7 separate regions of the Homo sapiens genome follow, and regions 1, 2, 3, 5, 6 and 7 are each linked to region 4. The links are contacts of gene promoters, found by promoter capture Hi-C in blood cells and fetal thymus (Javierre and others, 2016). All regions are on one chromosome and are shown on one strand. Each heading gives the region's core, a stretch centred on a gene start or on the middle of the fragment in contact. The rest is flanking DNA. Distances are from core to core; before and after follow the strand shown.

The links. The method cuts DNA at HindIII sites, captures the fragments that hold promoters and counts their contacts. A CHiCAGO score of 5 or more calls a contact.
Region 1: a fragment that was not itself captured here is called in contact with the fragment with the promoter of OR10A7 in region 4 in 5 of 17 cell types (M2 macrophages, M1 macrophages, total B cells and 2 more); the score reaches 6.9 in M2 macrophages.
Region 2: a contact is called between a fragment that was not itself captured here and the fragment with the promoter of OR10A7 in region 4, in 7 of 17 cell types (naive B cells, M1 macrophages, M2 macrophages and 4 more). The highest score is 8.9, in naive B cells.
Region 3: a contact is called between a fragment that was not itself captured here and the fragment with the promoter of OR10A7 in region 4, in 12 of 17 cell types (M2 macrophages, total B cells, naive B cells and 9 more). The highest score is 13.9, in M2 macrophages.
Region 5: a contact is called between a fragment that was not itself captured here and the fragment with the promoter of OR10A7 in region 4, in 3 of 17 cell types (M1 macrophages, M2 macrophages and naive B cells). The highest score is 5.8, in M1 macrophages.
Region 6: a fragment that was not itself captured here is called in contact with the fragment with the promoter of OR10A7 in region 4 in 3 of 17 cell types (total B cells, megakaryocytes and M0 macrophages); the score reaches 6.0 in total B cells.
Region 7: a fragment that was not itself captured here is called in contact with the fragment with the promoter of OR10A7 in region 4 in 15 of 17 cell types (total B cells, naive B cells, M2 macrophages and 12 more); the score reaches 13.3 in total B cells.

Annotation. Positions count from the first base shown.
Region 1 is chr12:55,602,674-55,606,123 of GRCh38, reverse strand. No RefSeq gene overlaps it. Among named protein-coding and RNA genes, the nearest start is that of OR2AP1, 32 kb to the right of the region's middle. The HindIII fragment of the contact is 5,423 bases long and covers 1-3,450 here.
Region 2 is chr12:55,552,678-55,556,106 of GRCh38, reverse strand. OR6C4 (olfactory receptor family 6 subfamily C member 4) reads right to left here. Exons shown (of 2, transcript NM_001005494.2): 2 at 275-3,429. Among named protein-coding and RNA genes, the nearest start is that of OR6C4, 4.8 kb to the right of the region's middle. The HindIII fragment of the contact is 3,988 bases long and covers 3-3,429 here.
Region 3 is chr12:55,580,650-55,584,056 of GRCh38, reverse strand. It overlaps the pseudogene ATMINP2. Among named protein-coding and RNA genes, the nearest start is that of OR2AP1, 9.9 kb to the right of the region's middle. The HindIII fragment of the contact is 2,465 bases long and covers 499-2,963 here.
Region 4 is chr12:55,218,816-55,222,467 of GRCh38, reverse strand. It overlaps OR10A7 (olfactory receptor family 10 subfamily A member 7), which reads right to left and starts at 1,443. Exons shown (of 1, transcript NM_001005280.1): 1 at 493-1,443. The coding sequence starts at 1,443. The coding sequence ends at 493. The HindIII fragment of the contact is 4,903 bases long and covers 439-3,652 here.
Region 5 is chr12:55,528,634-55,531,874 of GRCh38, reverse strand. No RefSeq gene overlaps it. Among named protein-coding and RNA genes, the nearest start is that of OR6C4, 19 kb to the left of the region's middle. The HindIII fragment of the contact is 4,855 bases long and covers 1-3,241 here.
Region 6 is chr12:55,495,821-55,499,492 of GRCh38, reverse strand. No RefSeq gene overlaps it. Among named protein-coding and RNA genes, the nearest start is that of OR6C68, 5.3 kb to the right of the region's middle. The HindIII fragment of the contact is 190 bases long and covers 2,187-2,376 here.
Region 7 is chr12:55,625,554-55,628,824 of GRCh38, reverse strand. No RefSeq gene overlaps it. Among named protein-coding and RNA genes, the nearest start is that of OR10P1, 9.7 kb to the left of the region's middle. The HindIII fragment of the contact is 3,558 bases long and covers 1-3,271 here.

The sequences.
Region 1 (3,450 bases), core at 318-2,817, 380 kb before region 4:
GTTCTATTTTTAGTTCTTTGAGAAATCTCCAAACTGCTGTCCACAGTGGCTGAACTGATTTACATTCCCGCCAACAGAGTATAAGCAGTCCCTTTTTTCCACAGCCTTGCCAACATTTGTTATTTTTTTACTTGGAAAATATTTATTATAATTACCATCACTATATCAATTTAATGTAATGAATTCTACTTAGGTACATAGCAATAGAGTAAGGATTATGTATGTTCATGTCATAGTTTCAGTTTCTCTTTTTAAATTTAACTTTTATTTTAAGTTCAGGGGTACATGTGCAGGTCTGTTGTACGGGTAAACTTTGTGTCATGAGGTTTTGTTGTACAGATTATTTTGTCACCCAGGTATTAAGTCTAGTACCCATTAGTTATTTTTCCTGATCCTCTTCCTCCTCCCACCCTCCATCCTCTGACAGCCCCTAGTGTGTGTCATTCCCCTCAATGTGTCCATGTGTTCTCATCATTAGGCTTCCACTTATAAGTGAGAACATTTAGTATTTGATTTTCTGTTTCTGAATTAGCTTGTTAAGGATGATAGCCTTCAGTGCCAATCATGTTCCCACAAAAGACATGATCTTGTTCTTTTTTTATGGCTGCATAGTATCTCATGTTGTATGTGTACCACGTTTCCTTTATCTAGTCTGCCATTGATGGGCATTTAGGTTGATCCCATGTCTTTGTTATTGTGAACAGTGCTGCAGTGAACATTCATATGCACGTGTCTTTATAATAGAATGATTTATAATCCTTTGGGTATATACCCAGAAATGGGATTACAGGGTCAAATGGTACTTCTGCTTTTAGATCTCTGAGGAATTGCCACACTGTCTTCCACAATGGATGGACTAATTTACACTCCCACCAACAGTGTATAAGTGTTTCTTTTTCTCTGCAACCTTGCCAGCAAACATTATTTTTTGACTTAATGATCATAGCCATTCTGACTGGTGTAAGATGATATCTCATTGTGGCTTTGATTTGCATTTCTCTAATGATCAGTGATGTTGAGCTTTTTTCATATGATTGTCGGCCGCATGTATGCCATGCCTTCTTTTGAAATGTGTCTATTCATGTCCTTTGCCCACTTGAGGTTGTTTGTTTTTATTCTTGTAAATTTAAGTTCCTTATAGATATATATTAGACCTTTGTCAGATGCATAGTTTGCAAAAATTTTCTCCCATTCTGTAGGTTGCCTGTTCACTCTGTTGGCAGTTTCCTTTGCTGTTCTTTAGTTTAAATAGATCCCCTTTGCCAATTTTTGCTTTTGTTGCAATTACTTTTGGTGTCTTTGTCATGAAATCTTTGCTTGTTCCTATGTCCAGAATGGTATTGCCTAGGTTGTCTTCCAGGGTTTTTATAGTTTTGGGTTTTACATTTAAGTCTTTAATCAATCTTGAGTTTATTTTTGTATATGGTGTAAGGAAAGGGTCTAGTTTCAATCTTCTGCATATGGCTAGCCAGTTCCCCCAGTACCATTTATTGAATAGGGAGTCATTTTCCCATTGCTTGTTTTTGTCAGCTTTGTCGAAGATTAGATGGTTGTAGGTGTGTGGCCTTATTTCTAGGCTCTCTATTCTGTTCCACTGGTCTATGTGTCTGTTTTTGTACCAGTATCATGCTGTTTTGGTTACTGTAGCCCTATAGTATAGTTTGAAGTCAGGTGGCGTGATGCCTCCAGCTTTGTTCTTTATGCTTAGGATTGCCTTGGCTATTCGAGGTCTTTTTTGGTTCCATATGCATTTTAAAATAGTTTTTTCTGGTTCTGTGAAGGAAGCCAATGATAGTTTAATAAGAATAGCATTGAATTTATAAATTGCTTTGGGCAGCATGGCCATTTTAATGATATTGATTCTTCCTGTCTGTGAGGGTGGAATGTTTTTCCATTTATTTGTGTCATTTCTGATTTTTTTTTATTATACTTTAAGTTTTAGGGTACATATGCAAAGGTGCAGGTTTGTTACATATATATACATGTGCCGTGTTGGTGTGCTGCACCCATTAACTCGTCATTTAACATTAGGTATATCTCCTAATGCTATCCCTCCCCCCTCCCCCCACCCCAAAACAGGACCCGGTGTGTGATGTTCCCCTTCCTGTGTCCTTGTATTCTCATTGTTCAATTCCCAACTATGAGTGAGAACATGTGGTGTTTGGTTTTTTTGTCCTTGCGATAGTTTGCTGAGAATGATGGTTTCCAGCTTCAACCATGTCCCTACAAAGGACATGAACTCATCATTTTTTATGGCTGCACAGTATTCCATGGTGTATATGTGCCACATTTTCTTAATCCAGTCTATCATTGTTGGACATTTGGGTTGGTTCCAAGTCTTTGCTAATGTGAATAGTGCCACAATAAACATACGTGTGCATGTGTCTTTATAGCAGCATGATTTATAATTTTTGGGTATATACCCAGTAATGGGATGGCTGGCTCAAATGGTATTTCTAGTTCTAGATCCCTGAGGAATCGCCACACTGACTTCCACAATGGTTGAACTAGTTTACAGTCCCACCAACAGTGAAAAGTGTTCCTGTTTCTCCACATCCTCTCCAGCACCTGCTGTTTCCTGACTTTTTAATGATCGCCATTCTAACTGGTGTGAGATGATATCTCATTGTGGTTTTGATTTGCATTTCTCTGATGGCCAGTGATGATGAGCATTTTTTCATGTGTCTTTTGGCTGCATAAATGTTTTCTTTTGAGAAGTGTCTGTTCACATCCTTCACCCACTTTTTGATGGGGTTGTTTTTTTCTTGTAAATTTGTTTGAGTTCATTATCGATTCTGGTTATTAGCCCTTTGTCAGATGAGTAGGTTGTGAAAATTTTCTCCCATTCTGTAGGTTGCCTGTTCCTTTGATGGTAGTTTCTTTTGCTGTGCAGAAGCTCTTTAGTTTAATTAGATCCCATTTGTCAATTTTGGCTTTTGTTGCCATTGCTTTTGGTGTTTTAGACATGAAGTCCTTGCCCATGCCTATGTCCTGAATGGTATTGCCTAGGTTTTCCTCTAGGGTTTTTATGGCTTTAGGTCTAACATGTAAGTCTTTAATCCATCTTGAATTAATTTTTGTATAAGGTGTAAGGAAGGGATCCAGTTTCAGCTTTCTCCATATGGCTAGCCAGTTTTCCCAGCACCATTTATTAAATAGGGAATCCTTTCCCCATTGCTTGGTTTTCTCAGGTTTGTCAAAGATCAGATGGTCGTAGATATGTGGCATTATTTCTGAGGGCTCTGTTCGGTTCCATTGATCTATATCTCTGTTTTGGTACCAGTACCATGCTGTTTTGGTTACTGTTGCCTTTTAGTATAGTTTGAAGTCAGGTACCGTGATGCCTCCGGCTTTGTTCTTTTGGCTTAGGATGTACTTGGCGATGCGGGCTCTTTTTTGGTTCCATATGAACTTTAAAGTAGTTTTTTCCAATTCTGTGAAGAAGGTCAT
Region 2 (3,429 bases), core at 747-3,246, 330 kb before region 4:
CTTATTGCTGCTGGTGGGAATGTAAATTAGTACAACCTCTATTGAAAACAGTATGGTGATTCCTTAAGGAGCTAAAAGCAAACATACCATTTGATCCAGCAATCTCACTACTGGGTATTTACCCAAAGGAAAAGAAGTCATTATATGAAAAAGACACTGGCATATGTATGTTTATAGAAGCACAATTCACAATTGCAAAGACGTGGAACCAACCTAAGTGCCCAATGATTAATGAATGGATAAAGAAAATGTGCTATATATACACCATGAAATACTACTCAGCCATGAAAAGAAGCAACATTTTTTATTATTTTATTTTATGTTTTTTTGAGACAGAGTCTTGCTGTGTTGCCCAGCCTGGAGTACAGTGGCATAAACTCAGCTCACTACAACCTCTGCCTCCCTGGTTCAAGTGATTCTTGTACCTTAGCCTCCCAAGTAGCTGGAACTACAGGCACGTGCCACCACACCAGGCTAATTTTTGTATTTTTGATAGAGACAGGGTTTCACCATGTTGGCCAGGCTGGTCTCGAACTCCTGAACTCAAGTGATCCACCCTCCTCAGCCTCCCAAATTTCTGGGATTACAGGCAAGAGCCACTGCACCTGGCCTGGAAAGGAACAAAAGAATGTATTTTGCAGCAGTTTGGATGGAGCTGGAAGTCGTTATTCTAAGTGAAGTAATACGGGAGTGGAAAACCAAAAACTATGTTCTCACTTATAAGTATGTTCTCACTCGTAAGTGGGAGCTAAGCTATGAGTATGCAAAGGCACACAGAGTGGTATAATGAACTTTAGAGACTCAGAAGGGGAATGATGGGAGGGGGCTAGGGATAAAAAAACTACAGCTTAGGTCCAATGTATACTACTTGGGTGACAGGTGCACTAAAATCCCAGAATTCACCACTATTTAATTCACTGATGTAACAAAAGGCCACTTGTACTCCAAGTGATTCTTGTGCTTCAGCCTTCCCAGTAGCTGGAATTACAGGCACGCATCACCATGCCTGGCTGATTTTTGTATTTTTATTTGGTTGGTGCAAAAGTAATTGCAGTTTTTGCCATTACTTTTAGTAGCAAAAACCACAATTACTTTTCTATCAATGTAATAGTAGAAACGGGGTTTCACTGTGTTGGCCAGGCTGTTCTTGAACTCCTGACCTCAAGTGATCCGCCTGCCTCAGCCTCCCAAAGAGCTGGGATTAGAAGTGTGAGTCACTGATCCTGGCTGAAATAAAAAAAATTAAAAAATATATTTTATTGTTTTGAATTTTATTTAAAACTCTTTGCAAGAAATGATGCTGGAAGACTACCTGTTTAGAATTGTAATCCATATATCCACAAGCTCTGGCAGCTTTAAAGAGAGGCAATAGAAGAATGAATGCCCAAATGTAGCAGATTGGCTTTTACTCATTTTCATAGTCTCCTCACCCTAGCACTGGTATAATATGATTCTGAGAATGTTAGGCAGCTAAAGCTGTTTCTTTTAATTCTTGTCCACTTTGGTGACATGAGGAATCAAACTCACCATTTTATATATTTAGATACTGAATATTCTGGTAGCTCAGCACCAGACTCTGTGAAGTCATTCCTTTTGCTTATCTATGACTTGGATTACATTCCAAGTATGAATTAACATACAGCCAGACTAGATGAACAGCTTTAGAAGAATATGACTTGCTTTTTTTTTTTTGACAAGCTCATTTAGAAGGTGATACATTCTTTTCCATGTTCATTTCCAAATGCTTATATAAAGAATGCTGAGTGAACTCTTGCCTAGTGATCTTAAACATTAACTTACACAAAGTACCTTCCTTCCTTGTCTCAGCATGTTAATACATCCTGTCTCTCCCATAGATATCTAGGGCAATGAAGTTGATGCTAGCCCAGTTCTTATAACCTGCTGCCAAGTATTTTGATGGCTTTATCTGAAGAGTAGGTAAGATCTTTGCTGACCCAGCTACCCAGCATGCAGCTGGATGTGTGGAGAGTAGAAATATGCTGGCCTTGTGCAGATGGATTTCAAGTACAATGGCCAACATTTTTACTGTCCCTGCTATATTAAACCAACCAATTTAATGCCTTCTTTCTAGTTAAGCTCCAGTTCCTTGAAAAATATATTGTTTATAATATAGTTATAATAGATGTCATTTATTAAACACAATAAATACTGGCTGTCTTTTAATATTTTACATCTATTTTCTCAGTGAATGCTCAAAACTATAAGATAGACACTATTATTGTAAACATTTTAGAGTTGACAGAGGTGAGCCTTAGAGAGATCAAGTAACTATCCCCAGGTAACTTTGGTAGAAAGTTGAAAATCTGGGATTTGAACTAAAGCCTATGTTTTAAGCCACTATATGACATTGCTCCCACTGTACCATAGGTTTTAGTAGAAATGTGGGTGTAGGGGAACTTAATGATTTAGATGTGGCTATTCAAGAACACTTCTTGTTCTTGTAGTGCATTAAATTTGGAATATATTGAATATTATCACTAATCTCTAGCTAGCAACCAAAGAAAACAAGATACTCAGAATAGCAACAGCTTTACATAAAATACTTTTTCAAAAATATTATACATTCTCCAATACCTTCTGTGGCTCTGATAATTTGCTCTCATAATCAGTTCAATCCAGCTTGTTCCTTAAATGCTTGAGAAGTACCTCATTTTACTCAACATATTACCACATATAAAGCATGTGAAAATACCAGATTGTGTTCCACTTTTACCCCAAATAGTAACAAAGCTCCTGCAATTTTTTAAGATATTATTAAACTGTGTACAAATGCTCAGATTAAAAAAAAGTGCTTACTTCCATTGAAATTGGACACTACCACTACCTATTCAAATTCAAGTTGTCATTGCCTTGAATCCATGTGTAAAGTTTTTGGTAGGATAGTCTATTTCTAGTTGTTTTTCAAGACTCATAATTTGGAACATTCTAGATATAAGATTGCATTGACACTTTATATTCTTTTTACTTTATAAAATGGTCATCCATGGTTTATGTTACAAACGAAAGCAAAAATCTGGGGGAAAGTTAAAGAAGTAGAGCCAGATAACAGAATTTTCTTTTCTAATATCTAATAAAGTGAAACAAAAGGATGAAAATAAAATCATGATAGGAAGGAAAAAATTACCAGAAACTATCAAAGAGAGAGAAAACAGATCTCATGCCATTAACTTAAAATGTCACCTAAGAAAAGAAACAATAGATTTTGTCTAGGAGAATGAAAGCCTTCTAAACTTGTCTCTAGAAACCTGTTTTAACCATAAACTAGAAAATGGACATATTAAGTTGACAAAAATCTTAAAAATTTTCTCCTCATTTGGAGAAAAGTAGACTAAATATATATTCTTTCATTTTCCTCTTATGAAAGGAGGGAAGTTGCAATGGTTACATTTGAAATATAGATGAAAAAAT
Region 3 (3,407 bases), core at 482-2,981, 360 kb before region 4:
CTTGGAAGACAGTAGACAGTCTCCAATATATAGTCCTTGAAATCTATGATCCAGAAAGCATGGCACCATCTCTCTTTTCTTTCAAGTCTAAATCAAAAAGGTCATAAGGTCCATCTTGGTTCATATGCTTAACTCTGACTCAATCTTTTAGCTAGGGGAATGTGGTATCATAATTGAATGGGCCAGTTTGTATGTTTATCAATGACGTCAAATAAGGAGAGATGAGTGGATTGACAGTTCCATCAGAAATCCAAGACTGGAGCAGGGTGAAATATTTATCAGAGAAAGGGAGATGCTAACACAAACAAAAATGACAGCTATTGATAAAAGGAAGTTAATTGAATCAGGCAAGAACTGCAGGGGAACATTACTTTGTGAGAAATTGCCAAAGCCAAAGGCCTTGAGAGGGAGAATATGTGTGGAATAAAGAGTGAGTGATATGGGCATAAGTGGGGAGGGGTAACAGTTTGTGCTGAATCAACTTTTGATGTACAAGCTTCTGTTATATAATAATGAGACCCTTTTCATATATAGGATCAGACCAGTCAGAGGCACTAAATATGCACAGTATGAACCTGGTACTAGGCAGTCTAGAGGTGGATGACCTAGGTGGGCACAGTTTTAGCCCATCAAATTTATGATGATGCTACATTGTGAGCATGTATATATTCTGGGAGTAATTAGATCTATGCTATCAGAGACTTCACATCCAAAAGGTCCAAAAAGATGCAGGAAGCTCCTATGAAGAAGAAATAACTTTATGCAAAGCTGTGAAAGTTCTAGAATTTCCCTGCATTTTCTCATGCAAAGAATTGTTCACCCACAGTTCAAGCCAATAAATATTTAAATAATTAATAAGCCAGTTATAATCTATATAATCTCTTCCTTTTGGGTATTTATTTGCAATTATTCTTGACAGTTTTAGAAAAGAAAGCAAAACAAGGAATTGCTGGTGTAGACACTGAATTTCCATGAATTTTAACTACTGTTGATACTCTTCCTATTTTTAAGTTCTTAGAAATTTTATTGAAATTGTGATAATTTTCCAAAATTGCAGGAAGAACTAAATGTTATGACAGTCTGAATTTTTACTAGTGATATTTTTATGATTTTCTATATTTTTGGGAAAGGACAAACATAACATTGGTGTGGGAACTTAACATGAAATAAAGTATTATGGCTAGTAGGATTAGATAGCTGCCTCACTGTCCAGCTCCATCCAGACAATACTTGAATTATGGTACAGGCCTAACATGCCTAGTATCTATGGCATGTCAAACTGGAGACAGTATTTTCCAAGAATATTATGTTCTGTGGAGTTTTCTTTGTCACAAAGGAGGCTATATCATAATATTTTGGAGGAAGTATATATGATTTCATCAAATGCTACACATTTGATGAAAATGGTCACCAAGATTCTTTATTGAGATATTTAAAGTAGAGAAATGTTGTCTCCTTGTGTGTTAAATAAAGTAAAATAAATTAGAGAAACGTACAAAGAAATTTTTATACTCTTGCCTTTACTCTACTCAGGATTGAGGTTACAATGTTTTTCATATTTGTCTTTTTCTAAATTAAAGGAACATAGCATAGCAGATATAGTTGGAATATCTTTCACTAACTGACTCACAGATAATCATAGTTCAGATCAGAGAGTAGTATAGATGATCAGCCTCTGTGGCTGTATGGGAACCTTGACAGCAGTGCTGGCGGCTGGCCCCCTGGCCATCCTGGCAGCCACAAGGGAAGTCAAGGCTGCCTCAAGCCTGTGGGGGCCTCTGGGACCCCAGCTGAGGGACAGCAGCCTGCAGCCTGATGCCATCAGCCTGGGAGCTGATCCAGCAGTTGGTGATCAAGCTGTCCCAGGCAGTGTGGACCAATAACCTGCACACAGTGCTTGGCTGTGCAAGATCCTGCCCAGCAGCCCCACGCTCAGCATGTTCTTGGTCAACAGCCACTGCCTGTAGGATGGAATAGTAGACCCAACAATAATAAATGGTTTGGTGATTCCTGGAAGACCTAAAGGCAGAAATGCTGTTCAACCCAGCAATCCCATTACTGGGTATATATCCAGAGCAATATAAATCATTCTCTTATAAAGACACATGCATGCGTATGCTCATTGCAGCACTATTCACAATAGGAAAGACATGGAATTAACCTAAATGCCCTTCAATGATAGGCTGGATAAAGAAAATGTGGTACATATACACCATGGAATACTATGCAGCCATAAAAAAGAAAAAAATCATGTCTTTTGCAGGGACATGGATGGAGCTGGAGGCCATTATATTTAGCAAATTTACTCAGGAACAGAAAACCAAATACTGCATGTTCTCACAGGTGGAAGCTAAATGAGGAGAACACATGGATACATAGAAAGGAACAACATACACTGGGGCCTACTGGAGGGTGGAGAGGGAGGAGGGAGAGGATCAGAAACAATAACTAATGGGTATCAGGCTTAATACTTGGGTGATGAAATCTGTACAACAAACTCCCATGACACAAGTTTACCTAAGTTGCAGACTTGCACTTATATCTCTCAACTTAAAAGTTAAAAAAAAGAAAAAGAAATGGTTTGATAACCCGTACTGAAATTTTACTGTTGTCCAGTTGATGGATGCCCTGGACGCTCTCACAAACCATTTTCTCAATTTTCTCTCGTAAAGCAACACTTTATGAAAATGCATGCTGAGAACATAAATGTAGTAATGAGACTTGAAGAGACACTCGGACTGTGGCAAGATCTTTGAGTGCACATGTGTCTGTCCCTATGCCAGTGGAATGGTATTACAGTCAGACGTTTACTAAACTGGCCATGGTCCCTGCAGAATACAGGGATCTACCTATTAGAAAAGGAAAATGTAAAACAGTCTATAAAACTAGAGGGGGTCCAATAAGACCATTGAATCACTAAACAACCAACCAACTTCTAGACAGACACTCAAGAACCAGAAGCTTCAGAAATAAAAACAGTAGCTTTTTTTTTTAAAAGAATCTTGAAGCTCTAATGCCAGAAAGCAGACTCTTACAACACCTCTGAAGTAGCCTTAGAAGTTGCATTTACCACAGCCCAAAGTGGTTCTTGTTAAATTACGTGTGATGCAGTTTTCTCCTATGCTTGTCATTGAGCCTGCAACTGACTCCCTGGCTGAACCCGTGGTGTGAGGTATCGATCAGGCTTCTGCCACAGAGTCTGTGCACCTACCGCCTTGTCAATAGGAACCCTGATCCATGCCCTAGATTCAGAGGCTTGCTCTCCTAAGAAGAGACTGCCTCTTTCAAAAAATTGTAAATCCTGTTGCTGTTGAGCCAACTAATATGGCTGTTCAAGTGAACCTGGGTAAAAGTCTGTCTAATCCTTTACAAGAAATAGGGAACACATGCCCAAAGAATAGCATTTC
Region 4 (3,652 bases), core at 194-2,693:
CCCAGGAGACTCGCATTTATACATTGCATCAACATTCTTGTCCCCATGTTGTATTTGGTTTGGCTTAGAACAGAAGCCAGCAATAGATTTGAGAGAGTCAGATCAAAATAAGGTTGGGATGGCTGCCTTGCTGTACTAAAGAACAGAGATCCTATCAGGTGATTTTTTTTTAATAGTTGTAGCATTCTATTGGTTCCAGTTAACACTCCTTCTACTTGCCCCTTCAGGCCAAGAAGTGTAAAAGTTCTGTTGTATGATCTGTGTGGCTATTACCTAACCTTGTTCACAATTTCTAAATAGCCCTCTCATAAAGCGTTTTCTCACTTATCCCAATTCAGGAGTACCATCTCTTTCCTGCTAGGAACCTGAATGATACACAGAAATGCACCCACCAGTTAGTGATGAAATAAGAGCAACTCTTCCATTCCGTTTTAAGCTTTGGTTAGTAGGTTCTGCTGTCCCTACTTTGGAAGCATTCTTACACAATAGAAGTCAAAACACATCTAACTTCTGTAAGACTTTTTGAGTGATTGTCCTCTTGACAGCCCCTTTCACTTCATTGTTCCTCAGGCCGTAGATGATGGGGTTTAGCATAGGTGTGATGACAGTGTAGGACAATGACACTAGCTTCTTGCTCTCAGGGGACTGGTTTGATTTGGGCCGCAGGTAGGTCAGACTGGCTGTTCCGTAGAAGAGGGACACCACAATGAGGTGTGAGGAACAAGTAGAAAATGCCTTCTGGCGGCCAGTGGCAGAGGACATCCTCAGAATTGTTATGATAATGCGGGTGTAGGAAACCAAAATGAGACAAAAGGGAAACATGATAAACAGGAGTGTGGAGGCAAGTGCTTGCATTTCATACATGGTTGTATCCACTGTGACTAGTTTTAACACTGGGGGACCATCACAGAAAAAGTGGTCCACGGCATTTGGTCCACAGAAAGGAAGGGCCATCATCCAAGCTGTCTGTAGCATAGACACAGGAACACCGGACATCCAAGAGCCTATGGCCATCCACAAGCATAGGGACCTGTTCATTATGACTGAATAATGGAGAGGGTTACAGATGGCCACAAAGCGATCATAAGCCATCATGGAGAGAAGGAAACATTCAGAACTGCCAAAGAAGAAGAAGAAGTACATCTGGGTACCACAGCCCACAAAAGAGATAATTTTCCTTGGGGACACTAGATCTACAAGCATTTTTGGCACCATAACCAAGGTGAAACATACTTCAAGAAGTGACAGATTTTGAAGAAAGAAGTACATGGGTGTTTGAAGTGCGAGATCCACACTGGTAACTGTGACAATAAGAAAGTTGCCCAACAAAGTGACTGTATAAATGGCCAGGAAAAAAATAAAGAGGGAAACTTGCATCTCGGGGTTGTTTGTAAAACCAAGAAGAATAAATTCAGTGACTCTGGTGTGATTTTCACAGATCATATCTTAGATGAGTTTCTCTCTAAAAATCAAAGTATGTGCATCAAAGGGTATTAAATCAATATAGAGGTAATCTCAAAAATAATAATAACATCCATAAAACATCTTTATTCTCAGTTGTCTTACCATTCTGTTTCTCTGAAGCAGAAATGATGTTTATGATAAGATAAAATTAAGGAAAAATAAACATTCTGTATAAATCTTACTCATTGTTTACCACCTAGATGTAATTTTTTTCTCATGAGTAGTCATAGTCTGTGCTCATATTCTTCAACGTAGGCATGCTATTTTGTAGGATAAAGTGGAAAGAGTGTAGATAGATAATTAAAATAGAATAGTGTACTAATTTTTAAATGATTTCAGGATGCAATAAAGATAAATAATGGGCTAGTTTGACATTCTAATATTTAATTATATTAATCACATTTCTACTGAATATAGTACATTTTATACCATTCATCCACTATAAATATATACATATACCAACATGCCCAGTACACACACACACACACACACAAGAAACTTAATAAATAAACATAATATATGCTTATGATTTTGGTGCTTCTCTGTAGTCTCCATCAGCCTAATAGTTTATGACATTTTTATATTGTCTTTTGAACCATAACTCAACTTCACTGGGCCCCCACTTCTTATTATACATAGAGTTATAGTTATATTGTTTAAGCTATATTTTTTAAAAACTTCCAAACAAATATGACTTACAATAGAGAAATATCCTCCCAACACTCATCTTAACTTTTCTCTGCCAAAATAGTTCCTCTCATGACTGTCCATCTTCTTTAAAACTTCATGATCAGAAGTAGGGTACATATACTTACTTTTGTATGTCAGCTGATCCAGTCCCAAAAGCACTAATTCAACCATTACAAACTCAAATACTATATCTTACTTAGAGCAAAATATTTTGGCCAACATTAAATTATGCAATTGTTTTCTTTACAGGAGGTCATTCTTAGTACCAAAATTTAGCAATTACAGGAGGATGTGTTAGAAAAATAATTTTTTCCAAATATTAGAACTGGGTAAATATCGTATCAATTATTTTACATACTTTTTAAATTTAATTCAGAAAAAAATGCATATTTCATTTTATAGTCAAAATAATTTAAAATAGATATCCGCTCCTGAAGTCAGTAGGTAAAAACTTACAGTGTATGGAATCATTCTGAAACTGTGGCTCATTTAAATAATTCTATGTTTTAATTCTACTCTTAAGACATGTAACATCTTACCTGTGTATTTTCCATATTGTAAGTTCTCAAAGGAATGTCCTCAGTAGCAAAAAGAAAGGAACAACTCTGGTGATTTCAGGTTTCCCATGCCCTTGTAAGTCCCAAAATAATAGGTAACATGTGACAGTGATTACAACCATTACTCTCTCACTACTATTGCAAAACCAGCTTCACTATCATTCTTGTCATCAGGAATAGAAACAACAACATCATATTCCTGGTATATTCATAAAAACTTACGAAAAACTTCATATGCATTATCATGCTTACCTACATTTTGGAGCAATTCTAAACTTGTTATGGGTCTAAAATTACACCATCTTTTGTTTTGAAAAAATATGGGAGTTGATGAAGGCATCAAGATTTTATAGTAGTTACAATATTTAGTGCATCCTAAAATGCCTCAACCAACTGCCTCTCAGAATTCTAATATTAACAGTGGCAGAAAGCAGTACTAAGATGAATGGCTTTTCATTGAGTAATAAGTTCTATAATGTACAATCCATGTGAAATATGAATACGGATATCCAAAAATGGTCAGTTTCTCGAATTTTTAATAATTACCATTGCACATTTTTCACCTTTCCCAAAGGCATTTAAGTTTTAATAAAAGTTTAGACAATTAGAGGTTTATAATGTCACAGGATGTACCTCTAAATACTCCTCTCAGTCTTTCTATATCCTAAAAAGCCTACAGATTACTTTGCATATATTCACTAAACTAAGAGATTAATTAGCAGTGATGTTGCAATCACTACCACAAATTTATACTGATTTAAAAAAAAAACTTGCAGAGTGTTGAGTTGCCATGATTGCTACATTGCTCTAGAGAATGTACTGTTTTACTTGTCGCATGGCATTTTGATAACTTGATGTCATTTAATTAAGTTCATTAATTTAGTTGGTAATATCTTAATGAGTCCAAATAGTTTTTTTCATGTCCCATTAAGCAGTCAACT
Region 5 (3,241 bases), core at 520-3,019, 310 kb before region 4:
TCCACACCCTGACAGGCCCCAGTGTGTGATGTTTCCCTTCCTGTGTCCATGTGTTCTCATTGTTCAACTCCCACTTATGAGTGAGAACAGGCAGTGTTTTGTTTTCTGGTCTTTTATTAGTTTGCTGAGAATGATGATTCCAGCTTCATCCATGTCCCTGCAAAGGACATGAACTCATCCTTTTTTATGACTGCATAGTATTCCATGGTGTATATGTGCCACATTTTCCTTATGCAGTCTATCATTGATGGGTATTTGGGTTGGTTCTAAGTCTTTGCTACTGTAAATAGTGCTGCAATAAATATATGTGTGCATGTATCTTTATAGTAGAATAATTTATAAGCCTTTGAGTATGTACCCAGTAATGGGATTGCAGGATCAAATGGTATTTCTGTTTCTAGATCCTTGTGGAATCACCATGCTGTCTTCCACAATAGTTGAACTAACTCACACTTGCACCAATGGTGTAAAAGCATTCCTATTTCTCCACATCCTCTCCAGCATCTGTTGTTTCCTGACATTTTAATGATCACCATTCTAACTGGCGTGAGATGGTATCTCATTGTGGTTTTGACTTGCATTTCTCGATGACCAGTGATGAGCTTTTTTTCACGTTTGTTGGCTGCATAAATGTCTTCTTTTCAGAAGTGTCTGTTCATATCCTTTGCCCACTTTTTTGGTGGGGTTGTTTTTTTCTTGTAAATTTGTTTAAGTTATTTGTAGACTCTGGATATTAGCCCTTTGTCGGATGGATAGATTGCAAAAATTTTCTCCCATTCTATAGGTTTCCTGTTCACTCTGATGATAGTTTCTTTTGCTGTGCAGAAGCATTTTAGTTTATATCCAAGTGTGTCTTTTGTTTCCAAAAGTTGTGATTGTCTTTTCTGTATGATATCTATTTCTCTGGAGACTTTTTAATTCATATCCTTTATTAAATTTTTTTTAAAAGTTGGTTTGCACCTTTCTCTGGTGCCTCCTTGAGTAGCTTAATAATCAACCTTCTGAGTACTTTATCTGGAAATTCAGAGATTGCTTTTTGGTTTGGATCCATTGCTGGAGAGCCACTGTGATCTTTTGGGGGTGTTATAGAACCCTGTTTTGTCATATTACCAGAATGACTTTTCTGGTTCTTCTCATTTGGGTATACTGTTCCAGTGGAAAGATTTGGCACTCAAGGGTTACTCTCAGACTGTTTTATCCCACAGGGTTATCCCTTAATGTGGTGCTCTTGTTTTTTTCCATAGGGATGGAGCTTTCTGAGGGCCAGACTGCAGTGATTGTTATTGCCTTTCTGGTTCTAGCCACCCCGCAGGGCTACCTGGCTCCAGGCTGGTGCTGCAGAATGTCTGCAAAGTGTCCCGTGATGTGATCTGTCTTCAGGTCTCCAAGCCATGGATACAAGCACCTGCACTGGTGGAAGTGGCAAGGAGTAAAGTGGACTCTGTGGGAATCCTTAGTTGTAGTTTTGTTTAGTGCAGTGGTTTTCTTGAATGGTGGTTATGCCAACAGTGAAGTTGTCACGTGGACAGACTCAAGAGCTCTGGTTAGCCAGGGTGTTGCCGGTGATGGAATTAGCTGTTGTTTTCTCCTTTTTTGAAGCAGGATTGTTCAGTTATGAATTGTTGTAGTGGCTTGAGTTGGTTGGCCTCCACCCAGAAGGTGGTGCTTTCAAGAGAGCACCAGCTGCAGTAGTAGAAGGGGGATATAATGTTACCCTACATTGGTCAGGATGAGTACTTCAGTTTCTCAGGTGATAGGCAGGGCCATAGAGCTCCCAAGGGTTTATGCCTTTTGTCTTCAGCTACCAGGGTGGGTAGAGAAAGCCCTTCAGGTGGAGGTAGGTTTAGGTGGGTCTGAGCTCAGACTCCTTGGGTGGGGCTTGCTGTGGCCCCTGTGGAGGATGAGAAGATGGTTCTCAGGCCAATGGAGTTATGTTCCCAGGGGGATTATGGCTGCCTCTGCTGCATAATACAGGTTGCCAGGGAAGTAGGGGAAAGCTGGCAGTAACAGGCCTCAGCTACCTCCCATGCAGCCAATAAGGCCAGTCTCACTCCCACCATGCCAATCCCCACAACTGCACTGAGTTTATATCCAGGCAGCCAATGAGCAGAGCTGAGATCTCTCCTCAGGCTACAAGCCTCCCCACTGAGAAAGCCAAGTAGGGTTTTCAGGCCTCACCCCTCCTCACCAGCATACATTTTTTTTGGTGGTGGCTTCTGTGCTTGTATCTATACTTCCCATTCACCCCCCCAACCCTGGATTTTGCTCAGGAAAATTCATGCTCAGTTGAAATTATTACAAAATTCAGCTAGGAGCTTCCTTCACTCTGTGGACCCTCCCCAATTCTGCTGTCTGCCTTCCCTTTCCTAAGGGCTTCTGTGAGATAAGACTAAGAATGGCTTCCCTGGGCTTGAACTGGGGACCAGGAATTTCTACAGGGCTCTTTCTTCTGCTTCTTCTACTTTTTCATTTCACTCAGCTCCCTAAATCTGTTTCTACTCTAGATAAAGTTAAATCCTTCTCCTGTGATCCAGATTTTCAGGTTCCCTGGGGGGATGTATGTTCAGAGGCTGACTTTTCCCCCTTTCGCACTTTGAGAACTCACAGTTTGTTGGTGGTCTTGCGACATTTGTAGCAGCAAGCTGCTTTTTTCAAAGGATCTGTGAATTATTTTGTTTTTCCTGGTATGCTTCTGTGGTGTTTCTTGGTGCAAAAGTTTAAATGTGAGTCTCCAGATGCTGTTCTGTCCATCCAAGTGGGAGCTGCCTGTTAGTCTGGTCTCCTATCCACCATTTTTCTGCATTCTGAATCACATTTATTGATTTGCATATGGTGAACCAACCTTGTATCCTAGGAATGAAGCCTATTTGATCATGGTGAATTAATTTTTAGATGTGCTGCTTTATTTTTAAAAATGATTTTATCCCCATAGGTTTTTGGGGAACAGGTGCTATTTGGTTACATGAATAAGTTCTTCAGTGGTGATTTGTGAGATTTTGGTATTCCCACCACCCAAGCACTATACACTGAGTCAATTTGTAGTCTTTTATCCCTCACCCCCTTCCCACCTTTTCCTCCTGAGTCCCCATAGTCAATAGTGTCATTCTTATGCCTTTGTATCCTCATAGCTTAGCTCCCACTTATAAGTGAGAACGTATGATGTTAGGTTTTTCACTGTGAGTTGCTTCACTTAAGATGATAGTCTCCAGGCTGGGCGCAGTGGCTCACACCTGTAATCCCA
Region 6 (3,672 bases), core at 1,032-3,531, 280 kb before region 4:
GCAGAAGGCCAAGGGGGAGCAGACATGTCACATGGCCAGGGCAGGAGCAAGAGAGAGCAAGGGGGAGGTGCTATACACTTTTAAATGACCAGATCTCACGAGAACTTACTATCATGAGGAAAGCACCAAGGGGGTGGTGGTAACGTATTCATGAGAAATCTGCCCCCATGATCCAATCACCTCCGATCAGGCCTCATCTCCAACATTGAGGAATACATTTTGACATGAGATTTGGGTGAGGACACAGATCCGAACCATGTCATGTATTCCTACAGCCTTGCCAACATCTGGCTCAATGGCAACAGCTTCAAATGAAAGTTGTTTTTAGCAGATGAGAACTCTCGACAGTATCTGTAGTCTTTGGGAAAGACCCTTCCTACTGCTCATCTCATCTCTGCTCATGATCACATTCTAGGCTTGCTTAATTAAATTTATCAGAGCATTTACATTTTGCAGTAAATTTCTTTTCTGCTTAACTTATTCTGGGCCAGTTTCTATATGCTACCCTTTGCTGCAGAGCAAACCATTTTAAAACTTAGTGGTTTAAACTAACAGCCTTTTTTTTTTTTTTTTTTGCTTATAATTCTGTTGTGAATTGTCAATTTGGTCAGGGTTCTGCTGATGCAGTTCCTCTCTACTCCAAGGGATGCTGGCTTGGCTCAGTCAGGTATTACCAATTATTTAGTAAGTCAAATGAGGACAGATCTGTTTTGTGCAGTCCTACTCACATGTCTGGTGGTTGGTGTTGGCTCTGGATAGGCCACACATATTTCCAGCAGGTGAGCCCTAGCATCTTCACATAATAATTGTGTTCCAAAAGCAGAAAGACGGAAGGCAAGCTCAAATGTACAAGCATTTTCCACTTCTCCTTGTATCATTTTGCAAATGATACAGCAAGGGAACCATGACTCCCTAGTCCATTAATGAAACGATCTGTTATGACTTCTATTGTTAATAACCCTAGGAAAACCCAAAGTGCTGTGGAGGCATGTAGGGTGACAAAGCTTTTGATTCAGCTAGAAATGTTTGCTTGCACGTATGAGACACCTATTTTCAACTTGTTAGAGACAATAGACTCTGTTGATTGATGTGAGACAGAAAGTCTGATGGTAGGGCTGGTGCTTGGTACACTATGATTCAGAAATTCATGTCACTTTTTTTTTTCTGGTTCCACCTCCCTAAGAATTTTTAGGTTCTACTCTTCTCAGTATGACTTTTTATCCTCATGCTGGCTCCCTTTATAGTAGCAATACTTGTGACAGCAGTTCTGCATATAATATCCTTATATAACATCAGTGAGAAGAAAGAAAGTAGTCTGGTCTCTAGGGTTTTCAGGAAAAATTAAGATCTGCTTTTTTTCGTAGGGTCATTTTCAAGGCACTACGGTAGCTAGGCAAACAGAACATGCTATGTGAATAATCCTAGACTACATCATTTACTCTTGTAGTCAACTATAAGATAAACATGTTTTTTTGTTTGTCTATTTGTTTTGCCTTATATGGTTTATTATGAGAAAGGAGAAAAGGTGCTGAGCAGAATAAAACAAAAACTGAAACTAAAACAATGCATGTTTATTACAATATGTATACTTTTTGATAGCCTAGTTTCCACAAGCATGCTTCTTCCTCTACGTATGCTTTTTAAACATCTTTAAAATTATATTTAAAATAAATTGAGATACAATTTATGTATCATAACATTTATCCTTTGAAATTGTACACGTTTTAGTATACAAGCTTTTGAAAATGCTCAAGGGTGCATAGAACTTAATAAATAATTCTCAAAAGGCAAACCCAAAGTGCATTTTCCTTTAAGTCCAGGAATATTGGATAATGTTGAATTACTTTTATTAGTTGTAGGTGCATCTTTCCTCAGATATGGAAGTTATTATTAAATAACGTTGGCCACATCCAACACACCCAATATACCATGGTAGAGAGAGAAGGTGATAATGAAAATGACTTCATTTCATTTCATTATTCCACGTTTGGAATAATAAGGAAAATAATGTATAGCAGTTACTAGTCTATAAATTGTGTCATGTTCTAATTGGAAGGCATAGCAAGAATTAATTGCCCAACTGGAGTGAATCAATTGGTGGCCAATCCAGGTTCCCGTGGTTTTGAAATTTGGGAAATAGTCTTCATCTTGTCAGAGTGCACATACTTGAAATGGGCACTAAAGCTTTCCACCACAGGGATTTGTACAAAACTAACAGTTCACTTCTTGCTGAAAATGGGAGTGTATGTCTCTTGAGATTTTCTGAGGAGCTAAGCAATCATAAGCTGTTGGACAGACTTGGTGTTTCTTTGGCATTGGAGGAGCTTAAATTATTGGTATTTTGCAAAAGCACAATATGTGCAACCATGAAAAGCTTTGTATTAGGTAATGTCACACAGTAAAAATAATAAGCATTATTTTAAAAATTAAGTTTGTGCAAAGCAATTCTAATAAAAATACTAGCACAGGTAAAATCTATGTTAAATTTTTAATAAATAAACACTATAGTAAATATGGGACTTTACCTTAAAAGGTAGTTGAATGTAAGGGTTGGTAGGAAAGGGCTGAAGATGCTGAGTTGTGGTGATAAGGGTAGTTTCAAGACAACATATGCCAAAATGAGCCAAGAGGAAGAATTCTGGATGAATCAGTCTGGTTTCACGATGTTATAATGCTCTATGGTTTCCTGCATTCTTCTCTGATAGTGCTCTTTGCTATTACTTGACTGTACAAAATATTACATGCTGGGAAAAAATGATAAATAAACTAAAGACTCCCATGTTATCTTGACAATATATCCCCATTCACTTATCATTTATGAGCCAAGTCATTACAGAAGCAAAGCTGAAGATATTTTTAAGTCAGATTCAGAAATGAATCTGAGGACTTGTGACATGACATCCAGCTCTTTTCCAGTGCTTTATTCAAACCTCTCATTAGTAACTGTCTTAGACTTGATCATGAACTGGAGACAATTCAAATCAGTGGCCAGGTGTAGGGAAGCACCTTTAATCTGCCTTGTGTCTCCAGAATGGATCCCTCCTACTCTGTTGTAAACTGGAGTCAATCTTTACTAGTTGTAGCAGGGGATGCATCATGAAAATTATTTACTGTGGTACAGTGCCCGAGTAATAAATCCTATTGTTGAGTCCCATATCCCATATTATTTCTTACTAGAGTTCTTTATTCTAGACTTGCTTTCATTAATTTTAACTTGCAATATACAAAATTGACTTTTTCAAGCTTGCAAGGCTGCAGATTACTGATTTACAGGAATTCTGAGAAATAATTTAGTATCTTTTCTTTTTTCTGTGTGAGTCAGTTTCAAGTAAGCTTTATTTTTCTCTATTATATGACCATTTTGATGGCTATAGAAAGCTACTTAGAGTCAACCACCCTAAAATTTTTCCACTGTGTCCCCTAATCCTGTAGTTTTGCTAGACACAAATCCTGCATTCTCAACACAAGCCTGGTGGCAGTTTAACCAATTTGTTCACTACAGTATAAGAAATTTTTCCTTTCTTACATTGGTTTGTACAATTACAATTTTTAGATCTGTCACCTCTTTCTGCTACTCTTGGTAGCAATTTCTCATATCTTTTACTGGCAAGTTACCAAAAAAACCTATGTTGGTGTAAGAAATACATCAATATACATACAAATACTCCAAAT
Region 7 (3,271 bases), core at 398-2,897, 410 kb before region 4:
CTGACACAGAGTTTAGTACCAGAAATTGTTGCAAGGGTGGGAATCTGGGAATGATCATTTGATCTCATTGGGTTTAAAGACAATGAGGATTCAGTACTATTGGAGGATGGAAGACTGGTAATCTTTGGTTTTCAGCCTTCCGATGTGAAACAGTTACAGAAATAACTACCTATCATCATCTGAAGTGCCGCTGAATGGTGATTCCTGAGCATGGTATGGGTACAAGGAGTTAAATGACAGTGAGTTTGGTTGCTGTTCATAACTGCTCTGGCAGCTTAAAGAAAGAAACTGTCAGGCTTAGGTCTTTTATATTTTCAGCTAAACACATAAAACTTGTAGCTTTGCCAGGGGCCCAGAGTAAGAGAAGGATATTGGCTGGTCCAGGCTGCAATACAGCTAATTCTGTTGCTGGCTTTTATGACTAAGGGAATCTGAAGGTGTGAGAAGTGCCATGGCTGAATTGGTGCTGTTTGGAGCCTGTGAAAAGCCCCATTCACAGAAGAGTTGTAGTGGAGGCCCCAAGGATTCAGAGAAAGTCCACGCCCTCTTCACCAAGTAACTATTATACTTTTGAGAAATATCTCCTTGTTTGTTATTTATGTATTTTTGAGACAGGGTCTCACTTTGTCATCCAGGCTGGAGTGCAGTGACACAATCAGGACTCATTGCAGCCTCGACCTCCTGGGCTCAAGCAATCCTTCTGTCTCAGCCCCCCTGAGTAGCTGGGACTACAGGTGTGCGCCAGCACGCCTGGCTAAGTTTTAAAACTTTTTTAGTAGCAATGAGGTTTCACTATGTTCCCCAGGCTGGTCTCAAATTCTTGAGCTCAAGTGATCCTCCTGCCTTGGCCTCCCAAAGTGCTGGGATTACAAGCACAAGCCACTGCTCTGAGCCATTGCTTGTTATTTGATCTCTGGCAGAGGATAAACACCTGACCCTGGGATACCAGGTGACTCTGCAACCTGAGCTGCCCTTTATGACCTGGGTGTTTCCCAATTGATAAAGCTGCATGGTCAGGCCCAGAAGCACCCCATCTTCAAGTGAAGGGGCATACATGAGATCAGACTTGAAGAAGTCCTGAAGTCACAAGGACATTCCACCAGTTCATGGTCCACACTCCCGTCATGTCTATTCTTGACACACTAATGTCCTTTCTTCCTATGGCCTCATGTAGTGTTCCTCATGACTGGTTGATGGAGGAGGAAAAATATTTGGGCCCAGCTTTACAGAGAACTTTGCACAACTCTGCTGGGACTAACTAGATATGGACATCTATGGCATTATAGCCCCAGTAATGGGGGTTGACCCTGAGGAAAAAAGGGGTGACCTGAGGAAGAGTGGAGAAGAAAAATGCCTGCTGAGCAGAATTTTGATAGTACAACTTAAAGAGTCTGCTTTTCCTGGAAGAAGGATGGCCTGAGATATGGATTTACATTGATCCATGAGCAGCAGCTAATGGTTTGTTTGGCAGGAGGTTTAGGAAGTAGAAGGAACAATACAGGAGAATGAGTGACAAGGCATTCTGGGGATCATCATCATCACCATCATCATCATCACTAACACTTCTGTAATGCTCACTCTGTGTCAGATATTGTTCTAAGCACTTTTTATATATTAACTTACTGAATCCTCCCAAAACACTGTGGGGTAGTTTCAACTATTATGCTGACTTTACTGAAGAGGAATCTGAGGCATAGCGTGGTTAGGCACTTGAACAAGACCATACAGCTAGTAAATGGCTGAGCTGGCATTTGAATCCAGGTGATCTGGCTGCAGAGTTCATGCTCTCAACCATCTTACTATTCTATGAATGAGCTTTTGAAAATGGGTCCAGACTGCGAGACTATTTGTGAATATGTGGGACAATGGTGAGACAATGTGGATGCTCACGAAAGGTCTCTCACTACAGAAGATACTGTTAATACTTAGGGATCAAGATGACCCAGCTGGTAGATGTCAGTCAGCCTTCTCCAGCATCTCCAGTGCTTATTCAAGGGATCACAATCAAAATGTCCATGGCGGAAGGGATGAAGGTTAGGCACAGGCTTACCGACAATGGTTCCCCTCACCAAGGCTGGTCTGGCTATGCCATGGCTGAGTGTGTAACTTGCCAGTAACAATAGCTTGGTGTAGTAGGCAGCCTCTAAGATAGTTCTCCATGAAACTCATCTTCTGATACTCATGCATTTGTGTAATTCTCTCCCTTTTAGTGTAGGTTGGAACCAGTGACCTGCTTTTAATGAAGGGAACATGGCAAAAGTGATGGGATATCTGACATTATGTTGCAAAAAGACTTGGCTTTCATCTTGGGTCCTGTCTGGTTCTCCTCTGCCTCTGTCTCTGTCTTTCTCTTCCCCCTTCTCACAAGTTGCCATATTGAGGACACTCGGCAGCCTGTGGAGAGACTCACATGAGGAAGAGCCAAAGCCTGCCAGCAACCATGTGAGTGAACCTGGAAATAGATCTGAGGCCTGCCAACAGGCACATGAATGAGTTTAGAAGTGGATTTTCCAACCTCAGTTGTCCCTTAAGTGACTGCACCCTCGGTGACAGCTTGACTCCATCCTCGTGAGAGACCCTGAGCGAGAGGCACCCAGCTCATTGCTCTCTCCTGGATTCTTGACCAACTCAAACTGTGAGATGATAATTGTCTGTGGTTTTAGGCAGGGAAGTTTTGTAGTAATTTGTTACATAGCAATGGGTAACTAATATGCCTGGGGATAGTTTGATTACATTGTACCCCTTGCCTGAAGGAGGCAATGCTCTGCACTCACTGGGATAATCACTTACTCTGGGCATGGATTTATCTTTCCTGTCTGCCTGCATCTGCAAGTGTCACCATCCACGGACTTACTGAATGCTGCATTTGTTGTCATGATATTTCACATAATATTGCATCTAATCAAGGAAAAAATATATAGCAAAACAAGTGAGACAATGTGCCAATGCTCACAGGACTCATTGGGATTACCCTGTAACTTCATTCCCCAGAACCACCTGGCCTTTTTTGAACAATAGAATGGCCAATTAAAAACTCAAATACAGCACCAGTTGGGAGAAAAAACCTTGAAAAGTTTGAGTGATCTCTTATAGGTGAGACATAGGCTCTGAACCCCAGACCAATATGTGGTATTCTCCTATAACCGAAATACAATAGCCAAATAGCCAAAATACAAATACAAAATACATTGGTTACCAAGGGGTTGAAGTAGGAGTGGCACCCCTTGCCACTAAACCTAACGACTTGCAAAATATTTGCTTCCTGTCCTTG